4 separate regions of the Homo sapiens genome follow, and regions 1, 3 and 4 are each linked to region 2. The links are contacts of gene promoters, found by promoter capture Hi-C in blood cells and fetal thymus (Javierre and others, 2016). All regions are on one chromosome and are shown on one strand. Each heading gives the region's core, a stretch centred on a gene start or on the middle of the fragment in contact. The rest is flanking DNA. Distances are from core to core; before and after follow the strand shown. Region 1 has its middle 30 kb from the start of S1PR1. Region 2 holds the start of DPH5 (diphthamide biosynthesis 5). Region 3 has its middle 49 kb from the start of S1PR1-DT. Region 4 has its middle 8.8 kb from the start of S1PR1.

Region 1 (2,716 bases), core at 49-2,548, 240 kb after region 2:
ATATGTATGCTGTCTTCACTGCCTGAACTCCATTTCATCCTTCAACACACTGTAATCTGGCTTCTGTGTATTGCATTTGCTAAAATAATTTTTGCTCAAAATTACCAGTGGACTTCATATTGACAAAACAATGGACATGTTTTTTGTCTTTTATTTGTTAGCCCTTCAGTATTATTCCACTTGGTAGATAATTCTATCTTTTCTGACTTCAGTTACACTTTGTTCTCCTGGATTTTCTCCTAGCATGCTGATTGCTCTTTCTCCATCTCTTTTTGCCAGCTGTCCTCTAACTGACTTCTACTGGTTTGGTTTGATTTAGGGCTAGGTTCTGGATGCTCTTCTCTTTACTCTCCATATTTTCTCCCTAATGATCTCATCCGTATTCATGGCATGAGTTAGTGTCTATATGCTGCTGATTCCTGTTATGGAGATTGTGGTACACCACCCAGAGACTCCCTCTAAGACTAAGGCATTCATTTTCCCAACTGTTGAGAGTATTGACTGTTGGCAGCTCACAAGGATTCCCTCCTTGAGCATTGTCCTCGGTTTAAGATTATATATCCCTTTTTCTTTTTCTACTTCTCTCTTTCTTTCCTTTTTTTTTTTTTTTTAAACAGGGTCTCACTCTTTTTTAGACAGGGTCACCCAGGCTGGAGTGCAGCGGTGCCATCTCAGCTCTGTGCAAACTCTGCCTCCAGGGTTCGACTGATTCTGGTGCCTCAGCCTTTTGAGTAGCTGGGACTACAGGCATGTGTCACCATGCCCAGATTATTTTTGTATTTTTAGTAGAGATGGGGTTTCACCATGTTGGCCAGGCTGGTCTCGAACTCCTGGCCTTAAATGATCTCTGCTCTCTTCAGCCTCCTGATGTTCTGGGATTACAGGCATGAGCCACGGCAACCGGCTTTATATCCCTTTTTGATGGGCAGCCTGCATTCAATGCTGGTTGAAGCAAGAGTACAAACTCTGGTACAAAGAGTACAAGAGTTCAGGACAACTCTGAAGGGTCATGCCAGTTCCAGAGCTCCCTGGATTTGCTGAGGACTCTGTTACAACTGCATCACACTTCAACTTCTCCCTCCGCCCAATCATGCTTTTTTACTCTCTTACAGACATTGTTTCTAAGGACATTCCTGTAGTAGATACTGTGATCCATTGCCCAAATGTCCCTTCAGGAACAAGGAGTTAATAGCTATGGTGCTGGGAATCTTGGGCAAACATATTCAGAGATAAGGCCTCTTCAGGGCAGCTAACACCTAATGACTGATCCAGTAGGGGTACAAAGGCACCACTCTCTCACCTCAACTTGGGATAGCACTGAAGGATCATCTTAATTCAGAAGTCCCTGCCCCAAAAAAAGGACACATTGTCTAATTTGATTCATCTCCAGAGACACAGTGTCATCATGGTCCTCCTTCTGCCCCCGTGAGATTGGAGTTTGATGAGGCCAGGTAACAAATAAATGCCTGTGTAAATTCTAGCTACGGTGGGTCCATAGACACCCCCAGTGATCCTTTCTCAAATCTCTAAGTGCATAACTAGGATTGACATACTGGCAGTCAGAGGAACCCCACTTTGTATCATTGACCTGTGGGGAAGGCCATATCATAGTGGAGAAGGCCAAGTGGAAACCTCTTGAAACCGTCCATACACCCCTTCCCCCAGCCAAGGCAGCAAATGGAGAAAAATTGCACCCTGGAGTAGAGGAATAGCAGAGATTAATGCTACTATTAAAGATCTAAAAATGCAGGGATGGTGGTCACTACTCACTCTCATATCCTCATTTAGCAGCACCAGTCTGGATCCTGCAGAAACTGGGTGATTCTGGAGAATAACAGCAGAAAACCACAGCTCAAACAAGTGATAGCCCCAGTTGTAGCTACTGTGCTGGATGTGGTTTTATTGCTAGATAAATGAGATAAAATAGGTTAATGAGATTTCAGGTACGTGGTGTGTGGTCATTGATTTGGGAAATGGATTCTTTTCTATTCCAATTAGAAAGAAGATTAGAGATAATTTGCATTCATGTGATGTGAGTAATATTCAACTGCAGCTTTGATCCAGGGCTATGCTGACCCTCTTCCTTTTACCACAATATAATCTGAAGATATTTGGATCTTCTTGAAATTTCGCTACAAGTCATATTGATTCATTCCATCAATGACATTATGCCGACTGGATAATACTCTAGAAGACTTCATAAGACACTTGCAAGATAAACACTATGAAGATTTATTGACCTCTCACTTTGATGTAGTTTGTATGGATCTAGTAGTCTGGGGAACATTGGACTATCCCCTTCAAATTAAGAGGCACATCTTGCATCCCTTATCACAAAGAAGGAAGCTCAGTGTGTGACAGGCATCTTTCATTTGTGGGTGTATAAGATAACACACTATACACCTAGAAGTACCACTAGCTTTGAGTGAGGCCCAGAGCAGGAAAAAGCTGTCCACTAAAGCAAGGCTGTGGTGCAAGCAGTTCTGTCATTCGGGCCCATGACTGACCCCAAATTTGCTGGAAATGTCAGAGGTGGGACTTACCAAATCACAAATTAGAGCAGGCCCAGCTGCTGTTCATCATAATAGTTTTTCCGAGGTTAAGCCCAAGTATGACCAGAGGGCATGAGTATACAGTACATCACTCTCCGTAGTTGCACAAGTGTTTATTTCCCAGCTTACACCTATGGCCACATAAGGGGTCTCATACGACCAGC
Region 2 (2,725 bases), core at 97-2,596:
AAGTTGGTCTTTACACACAACTTTTATTTAAATGCATGGCCAATTCAAGTAGCAGTTCTTAATTCCTTCTATAAGATTTTAAAGTAATCTGAGGCCTAAAAATTTTAAGTCTATTTTTTGTTTGGAAGACATGACAATAAATCTGCTCCCTCCTCCCATAACATATGTATTAATCCTTTGATTTACATTCTACTTAGAGTTTGACAATGAACCTGAAGTTGACCCTTCCCCCAAATTTACTGGGCCCTTATGAGGGCCAACTATAAATGTATAATATACTAACAAATACTTTGGTTACTTAGTGTATACTCATGTAAGTGTATACTCATACATTTTTATATATTAAGTCCAGGCTCACTCAATATATACAAGTGTATCAGTATAAGCCTTATTGGGAGATAGTCTATTTAAGATAAGATCTCTCTGGATAGGATACAAAAAGGCAATCGCCATTCCCTATGGACACACTTCAAAGGGGGAAGCTTTCAGCTTGGTTTTTGAATATATATAACCAACTCATTAAGGCTGTGTCAGCTCCTCATTAGCACTCAACTCAGAAAGGGTTTCTTGACTACCTCATGAAATAAGGGGTTTTGATAACTATCCCCCAGGAGTATAAAATAGCTTTCCTATTTACTGGAGAAAGCCACAAAATTAGACTTGTAAAATAGGACAAAGCACCCTTTCATTTTCCAAGTCACTTGGTTGGTGTAAAATTTCCATTCTTCTGCTCCTCAGATCATTAATGAACAAGGGATGCGTTTCAAAGGGTTTAAACAAGCAGACCTGAAAATTCTGTTCAGCTTAGTGTATGAAAATCAGATGTTAGATAGCTTTCTTCCCAGGAGGCTGGGGAACGCTCAGCACCTACCAAGGCTTCCTTCCCTACAGTTAGGACTGAGGTGTAGGCTTCCAGATACACTCGACTGCAGCGTCTAACAACTTCCAGGCCCTTGACTGTGATGTCCTTGGCATCTCCCAGGCCCAACCCGATGAGATAAAGCATTTCAAACTTGAGGAGAAGAGAGACTGCAAGACGAAGTGGACAGAAAAACCGTCAGTAACACCGAGGACATCTAAAATCTAGTGATGAACACGATGACAACCAAAGTAGCACAAGAGAAGAGGCAAGTCACAAGGAGGGGTTTGGGAACCTTATGTCACGCTTAAGAACTGGGATAAGAGGTTTTAAACAACCCTACCAGTTTTGCCTCTTGTTACACAAACCTAGGAGCAGCCAATTACCCGCTGAGAGAATCGTAGGTAGTTCTCTGGCCTTTACAAATTCTTAACTACCACCTTTCCGCAGAAGCAACTGCAAAAGCGCCGGCTCCGTGCAGAGAAAAGGCCCACGCCGCCGGCCTCACCTACGGTGCCGCAAAATGCTGGTGCCTTTACTGCACTTTACGACTAGCGGGAGGGGGCCGGGCTAGCGGGCTACTGGGCTGCGGAGACCAGAGCCCGGCTCCACTGAAGAAACCCGCCGGCTGCTGGGGCAGGGCGGCGAAAGGTCAGTCGGCCGAGAGGAGTCCGTGGAGCCACCGTTTCATAGCCTCAGGGAAAGGATCGGGCGTGCTCACGAGCCCTCTAACCCATGGCTTAAACACCCGCTTCCTAAGCCTGGGTAAGTGCAGTAGCTCTTCGCTCGAGAGGAGCCACGTGGAAGAGAGTCGGGAGGGGCCCTGCGCCCTACTCCTCCTCTCCAGAAACAGGGAGGGCTGGGAAGGATTTTCCTGATTTGTCCCCGGATTTGGCCGAGTGCACAGATTTTAATTCCAGTCTTCTCATCCTCCTGTAGTTCAACTAGGTGTCTTCCTGGTGAAGCGTGAGATTGGCAAACCCAGCAGTGAGTGTGCTTCTGATTTCCCAACAAGGCAATGACTCCTTGGGTTTGTCCCCAAGACCTTATGCCTGGAGTGCCCCAAGGATGTTTCAGTCACCCTCAGTGTCAGGAATCCCAGACCTTCCTGTACCTAAAGAAGTGACCTTTAATAGTGCTCAGGGATTTCAGACCTCTCAAGTGTTTCTGCCGGGGGAATTCTTATAAAGCTGTTGGTTACATGTAATTAGAAATAGGGAAGATTTGTTTTGACTGAAAATGCTCTTCCCAAGGTGACCTCATCCAAGTTAAAAAAGACAGCTGTCATTGCTTTTCTTAGCAGGCAGTGTTGGTTACTCAGAATTTTCCTGTTGCCTCCCCGACAATGCCCAACTCCGCTTCCTTGAACCTTGGCTTTTTTTCATTCCCAGGTTCCATCCACCTTTTTGCACTTCCTATCTATAAACTCTTCGTGGCTGTGTTTTATCCCCTCTCATTACGTTGATCTATTCCTCACACCACATACACACCCCAAAAAACTCAAAATGGATCGTAGATGTAAATGGAAAACCTAAACCTATACCAGAAGAAAACATAGGAGGAAATATTCGTGACCTTATTTAGGCAAATATTTCTTAAACCAAAAGCGTGATGAAAAAAATTGATAAATTGGACTTCAACAAAGTAAAAATTTATGCTCTTCAAAAGACTTGAAGCCACATACTGAAAATATTTACAAAGCATGTATCTGATGAAGGACTTGTATGGAGAATATATAAGGAGCACTCAGAAAGCAATAATAAAACAGTTCGTTGTTTAAAAATGGGCAAAAGATTTGAATAGACACCAAAGAAGATACACAAATAGCAAATAATTATTTTAAAAGATCTTAAACAAACAAAAAAA
Region 3 (2,765 bases), core at 198-2,697, 160 kb after region 2:
ATGGCAGCAGGGAGGTTTGTATGGGTTATAGCTCAAGTTTTCTTTTACTTGCCAAATGTTTTGTCTAGTTTTCTTACTTCTGACAGTGTTTTTAAAGATCCTTTTTGTATATTTTAACTTGGATCTGTTAATTTTTCAAATAATTTTTTAAAAATGTAGTTCTTCAGTTCAGTAACCAGACAACCTCATTGATGTTTTACCCCTGAGTGTATGCACCTACCTAAATTTGCAACTATTTGAAAAATATTCTAAGATCCTTTGAAACTCTAGTATGGAAAATAGTAAAATGAACTTTTGGTTTCTAGATAAATATGTATATCATTTGACTTACCTAAACAGTATATGACCAGTACTGATTTTCTTCTAGAGGCTTTAACGCTGATTTTATTTGCGAGCAAAGAAATTAAAAGAAAATTGAAAGCTTAATTCTTCCTGGGATTTCCTCGTATGTTTTCCTCATAGTTTGTAGCTAAGAAACAATAGAGCTTAGCTGCAAGAAATAGAAATAGTAATAGCATAGTATAATTTTTAAATGCCAGTTAAACCAAGGTAATGACATAGGTCATGTCAGTTTTAAAAAAATATATCTCAGAAAGGAATTCTGTCTGATTCTTTCTTTCTCTCCTTTCTCTCTCTCTTCTTTCTAATATGATTTGGCTTGGTGTCCTCACACAAATCTCATCTTGAATTTTAATCCCCAGGTGTTGAGGGGGAGACGTGGTGGGAAGTGATTGGATTATGGGGGTGGTTTCTCCCCCATATGGGGTCTGTTCTCGTGATAGTGAGTAAATTCTCACAAGATCTGATGGTTTCATATATGGTAGTTTTTCCTGTGCTTACACACCATCTCTCTCACCTGCCACCATGTAAGATGTGCCTGCTTCTCCTTCCTTCATGACTGTAAGTTTCCCGAGGTGTCCCCCAGCCACATGGAACTGCAAGTCAATTACACCTCTTTTCTTAATAAACTTCTCAGTATCAAGCAGTTCTTTACAGCAATGTGAGAATGAACTAATACTTTCTTTCTTTCTTTCTTCTTTTCTTTTATCTTTTCTTTCCTTCTTCTTTCTCTTTCTCCCCATCCCTCCCTCCCTCCTCTTTTTCTCCTTACTTCCTTCCTTCCTCCCTTCTTTCCTTCCTTCCTCTCTCTCTCTCTCTCTTTCTTTTTGGAAAAGGTCTTGCTCTGTACCCAGGCTGGAAATGCAGTGGTACAATCATAGCTCACTGCAACCTCAAACTCCTGGGCTCAAGAGATCCTCCCATCTCAGCCCCCCGAGTAGCTGGGACTACAGGCACATGCCACTGCATGCAGCATTTTTTTTTTTTTTTTGTAGAGATAGGCTCTTACTATATTGCCAAGGCTGATCTCCAACTCCTGGCCTCAAGTGATCCTCCTGCCTTGGCCTCACAAAGTGCTGGGATTACATGTATGAGCCACCACACCCAGCTCTATCTGACTCTTTTCTTCATACCACCCCCTGCAAAAGTCCTAAGACAAATTGTTGGCTCTTTTCATTCCACCACACCGTACAGATGGGCTACAGAAGAGCACCAGCACCCTTTCAGGGTTGTCCCCTAAGTCTACATGCCTAGCTCTTTAGTTCTCCCATTGAATTCTTTTTCATTGTATCATATGACATATTATTAATTTGAATAATAAATTAAATTTTTATATTCCTACTGCTAAGTCAGTACTGTGTATATAAACTGAATTTCCCAGCTTTTCTTGGAACATGGTGCTCACTAGAGGAATGGAAATTCAATTTAAAACAATAAATAGGGAAAGCAGAAAGAGTAAACAAAATGTGGAAGGGTGAGGCTTACTCTGAGGAGTGACTAAGCAGGCAGCTTCCTGTGGGCCCTTTAAAAAATGATTTTTTAAAAAATGTTCTTCCCTATTAGTTCTTAGAAAAGCAGATCAACTTGAAAAGATGCTGGTAGTTAGGTAAAACACAGATATATGGGTTTTTTTTTTTTTTAAAAAAAATGCAATAGAGACTATGTTATTCTAATAGTCATAATCTCTAAAACGGTTCATCTATTTTTTTTTTTTTGAGCTGGAGTCTCACTCTGTCCCCCAGGCTGGAGTGCAGTGGCGCAATCTTGGCTCACTGCAACCTCCACCTCCTGGGTTCTAGCAATTCTCTTGTCTCAGCCTCCTGAGTAGCAGGGACTACAGGTGCCCACCACCACTCCTGGCTAATTTTTGTGTTTTTATTAGAGATGAGGTTTCACCATATTGGTCAGGCTGGTAAAATGGGTCATCTTCTGCTACGTTTTAATAAGAAACTGATACTCATTCATATTCATATAGATTCCTAATCTAGAAACTCAATCCATAAACTGGATCCTTTATGAATTGCATAAAATATAAATTAATTTCTTTCATTAAGTGTTATGTAAATTTATAATACAACAACACCTGTTACAATTTTTAAATTTCTAATGGGCTTTAAATACTCAGCACCACTGAGAAGCTTGCTATTGCCTTGTGTCTATCAGTGTTTTCGCTCTAAGTTAAATGTACATTCCACAACAACAAACCACGTTTTGTTTTTTTTTTGGAGATAGGCTGGAGTTCAGTGACACTGAGCATAGTTCACTGCAGCCTCGACTTCAGGGCTCAAGTGATCCTCCTACCTCAGCCTTCCAAGTAGCTGGGACCACAGGTGTGCACCACCACACCCAGCTAATTTATTTTTATTTTTGCTAGAGATGAGGTCTCACTCTGTTGCCCAGACTGGTCTTGAACTCCTGGCCCCAAG
Region 4 (2,713 bases), core at 147-2,646, 220 kb after region 2:
ATGTAAAAGTTCCAGAATAGGCAAAACTAATATATGGAGGTATAAATCTGCACAGTGGTTGCCTGGGGTAAGAGGATAAACTGGAAAGGAACACGAGGGAACTTTCTAGGTTGTTAGCAAAGCTCTTTATCTTAATTTTTAGGACCTTGTTCACTCAGATGTGTATATTTGTCTAAACTTATGTAATCATATTCTTAAGACCAGTGAAATTTAAAAATATCAATATGCTAGACTTTCACTTCTGAGTATAAGGACTATATGAGACTTTCTCTGTGAAATTGTGGGAAGGTTCCATGAAGTTCAGTAGAAAGTGGCAGCCGTGCACAGTGGCTCACGCCTGTAGTCCCAGCACTTTGGGAGGCCGAAGCAGGAGGATAGCTTTGAGCTCAGGAGTTCAAGATCAGCCTGGGCAACATGGCAACACCCGTTTCTACAAAAAATACAAAAAAAATTAGCTGAGCATGATGGCTCACACCTGTAGCCCCAGCTATTTGGATGGCTAAGTCTGGAGAATCACTTGAGTCCAGGAAGTGGAGGTTGCAGTGAGCCGAGATCCGGCCACTGCATTCCAACTCCAGCCTGGGTGACAGAGTGAGATCCTGTCTCAAAAAAAAAAAAAAAAAAAAAAAAAAGAATGTGGAAAAGGTTCCAAAGTGTTTCATAAAAGGGAAATACGCTTTTTAAGTATTATCCCATGACCCAGAAATAAAACTTTAGAATGCTAAATAATTGTGACATGATGATACTCTTTGCTTCCATAGGATGAGAATTTGGCTTAGTATTGGTATTTGTAATCCCTGAAGAATTTCTGTGTCTTGAAAGAGTCTAGAGATGTAATGAAACTGTCACAATAAAAGTTTATTGACATTTGGATTTCAGTTTTAGGAATATATGATGGGTTGTAAATAGCCTTATGAAGAATGGACCTTGTATACATTGCAAGGATATGTAAACATATTAGTACTGGAGACATACAAATTGGAGTGTGCCAATTTCTTATCATGGCCACCTGACCAAACCTATAAAAGGCATTCATTCAGATAATAACACTCGCCCTGGGTGTAAGCACTGCATTGTTAGAAGAGATAGCAGAGCACAAAGGATATGGAAGACAAGCTTATGTTCCTGTGGATCTATTTTTTAATAATTTCAGCTTTTATATTAGATTCAAGGGGAACATGTGCAGGTTTGTTACATAGGCATATTGCTGTGATGTTGAGGTTTGGGGTGTGAATGATCCCATCACTGTGGTAGTGAGCATAGTACCCAACAACTAGTTTATTAGCCATTGTCCCCCTCCCTCTCTCTCCCTTCTAGTAGACACCGGTGTCTATTGTTCCCTTATTTATTTATTTTGGAGGGTCTCACTCTGTTGCCCATGCTGGAGGGGAGTGGTGTGACCATAGCTCACTGCAACCTGGAACTTCTAGGCTCAAGCAATCCTCCCGTCTCAGCTTCCAGAGTAGCTGGGACTATAGGTGTGTGCCACCACACCTGGCTAATTATTTATTTTTGTAGAGACAGGGTCTCACTTTATTGCCTAGGCTGTTGCCACACTCCTTACCTCAAGCAATCTTTCCACCTTGGTTTTCCAAAGTGCTAGAATTACAGGCGTGAGCCATCATGACCAGCCTGTTTCCATCTCTATGTCCACGTGTACCCATCCTGTGAGTTTTATAAGCTTGCAGCCAGACACATTGTTACCTGCATTCCCCTGTCTGAGGGGTCTTTCTTTCAGCCATCTCTGGGAGTAACTGGACAGAGAAGAAATGCCTCAGGTGCTGCACTGCTCCTTGGACAGACTGATTAGATACAAAGCAGAAATAGAAACAGGGAAGAGGGGGCATGGTTACCTCAGCTAACAAGGAGCAGGGAGACGTAGGAAATTGTTTATCCATTTCCCCAGAGCTCTACTACTATTATTACTCCACTTTTCTGCTGCTTTGTTGATACCAGGGCAGAAAGAAAAACCTTGGAAAAAGTTACTGGTGTGGGTCATGCTTCCTACTCCCATTCCTCTTGATAGGTCGGCAAACTTACCCACTCATCCACTCAACAAGAATGCTTGCCCTGTGCTCTGTGCTGTGGATCTAGGGGCAAATATAAACAGAGGTTCTGCCTTCCTAGAGCTCACAGGATTCATTCCTTCAGCTCTGGCACTCCTGTGGCTCCCTCTCTTTGGGGTCCAGGGACCTTGATATGGCAAGACAAAATTCTTTCTTTTTTTTCCTTTTTTGAGACGGAGTCTCACTCTGTCGCTCAGGCTGGAGTGCAGTGATGCGATCTCGGCTCACTGCAACTTCTGCCTCTCAGGTTCAAGCGATTTTCCTGCCTCAGCCTCATGAGTAGCTGAGATTACAGGCGTGTGCCACTACGCCAGGCTAATTTTTCTGTTTTTAGTAGAGACGGGGTTTCACCACGTTGGCCAGGCTGGTCTCGAACTCCTGGGCTCAAGCGACCCACCTGCCTCGGCCTCTCAAAGTGCTGGGATTATAGACGTGCATCACGGCACCCAGCCAAGAAACAGTTCTTTTTTTCCCATGAGTTTGTTCATTGTTGTACACTTCCTCTAATATATTGAGTTCTTTAGCAGTCTAAAATAATTTCATTTAACAAATACAATTAATATTGGCAGCTTTTCATCATTGGCTTTTATTTAATTTATATCTCTAAATTACTTAAAATTAAATAATGAAGAATAAACTCATATTTG

Evidence for each region. Contacts are between HindIII fragments. The CHiCAGO score rates a contact against its expected background, and 5 or more counts as called.
Region 1: a fragment that was not itself captured here is called in contact with the fragment with the promoter of DPH5 in region 2 in 15 of 17 cell types (activated CD4 T cells, non-activated CD4 T cells, total CD8 T cells and 12 more); the score reaches 21.5 in activated CD4 T cells.
Region 3: a fragment that was not itself captured here is called in contact with the fragment with the promoter of DPH5 in region 2 in 13 of 17 cell types (activated CD4 T cells, non-activated CD4 T cells, megakaryocytes and 10 more); the score reaches 11.9 in activated CD4 T cells.
Region 4: a contact is called between a fragment that was not itself captured here and the fragment with the promoter of DPH5 in region 2, in 15 of 17 cell types (naive B cells, activated CD4 T cells, naive CD4 T cells and 12 more). The highest score is 18.9, in naive B cells.

What each region holds. Positions count from the first base shown.
Region 1 is chr1:101,265,486-101,268,201 of GRCh38, forward strand. No RefSeq gene overlaps it. Among named protein-coding and RNA genes, the nearest start is that of S1PR1, 30 kb to the left of the region's middle. The HindIII fragment of the contact is 7,306 bases long and covers 1-2,716 here.
Region 2 is chr1:101,024,438-101,027,162 of GRCh38, forward strand. DPH5 (diphthamide biosynthesis 5) reads right to left here and starts at 1,347. Exons shown (of 8, transcript NM_015958.3): 1 at 1,246-1,347; 2 at 872-1,029. The coding sequence starts at 1,006. It overlaps DPH5-DT (DPH5 divergent transcript), which reads left to right and starts at 1,409. Exons shown (of 5, transcript NR_109849.1): 1 at 1,409-1,624. RefSeq lists enhancers at 877-2,076, 1,169-1,278. The HindIII fragment of the contact is 3,765 bases long and covers 481-2,725 here.
Region 3 is chr1:101,185,677-101,188,441 of GRCh38, forward strand. No RefSeq gene overlaps it. Among named protein-coding and RNA genes, the nearest start is that of S1PR1-DT, 49 kb to the right of the region's middle. The HindIII fragment of the contact is 2,056 bases long and covers 420-2,475 here.
Region 4 is chr1:101,244,486-101,247,198 of GRCh38, forward strand. No RefSeq gene overlaps it. Among named protein-coding and RNA genes, the nearest start is that of S1PR1, 8.8 kb to the left of the region's middle. RefSeq lists a silencer at 914-1,114. The HindIII fragment of the contact is 565 bases long and covers 1,115-1,679 here.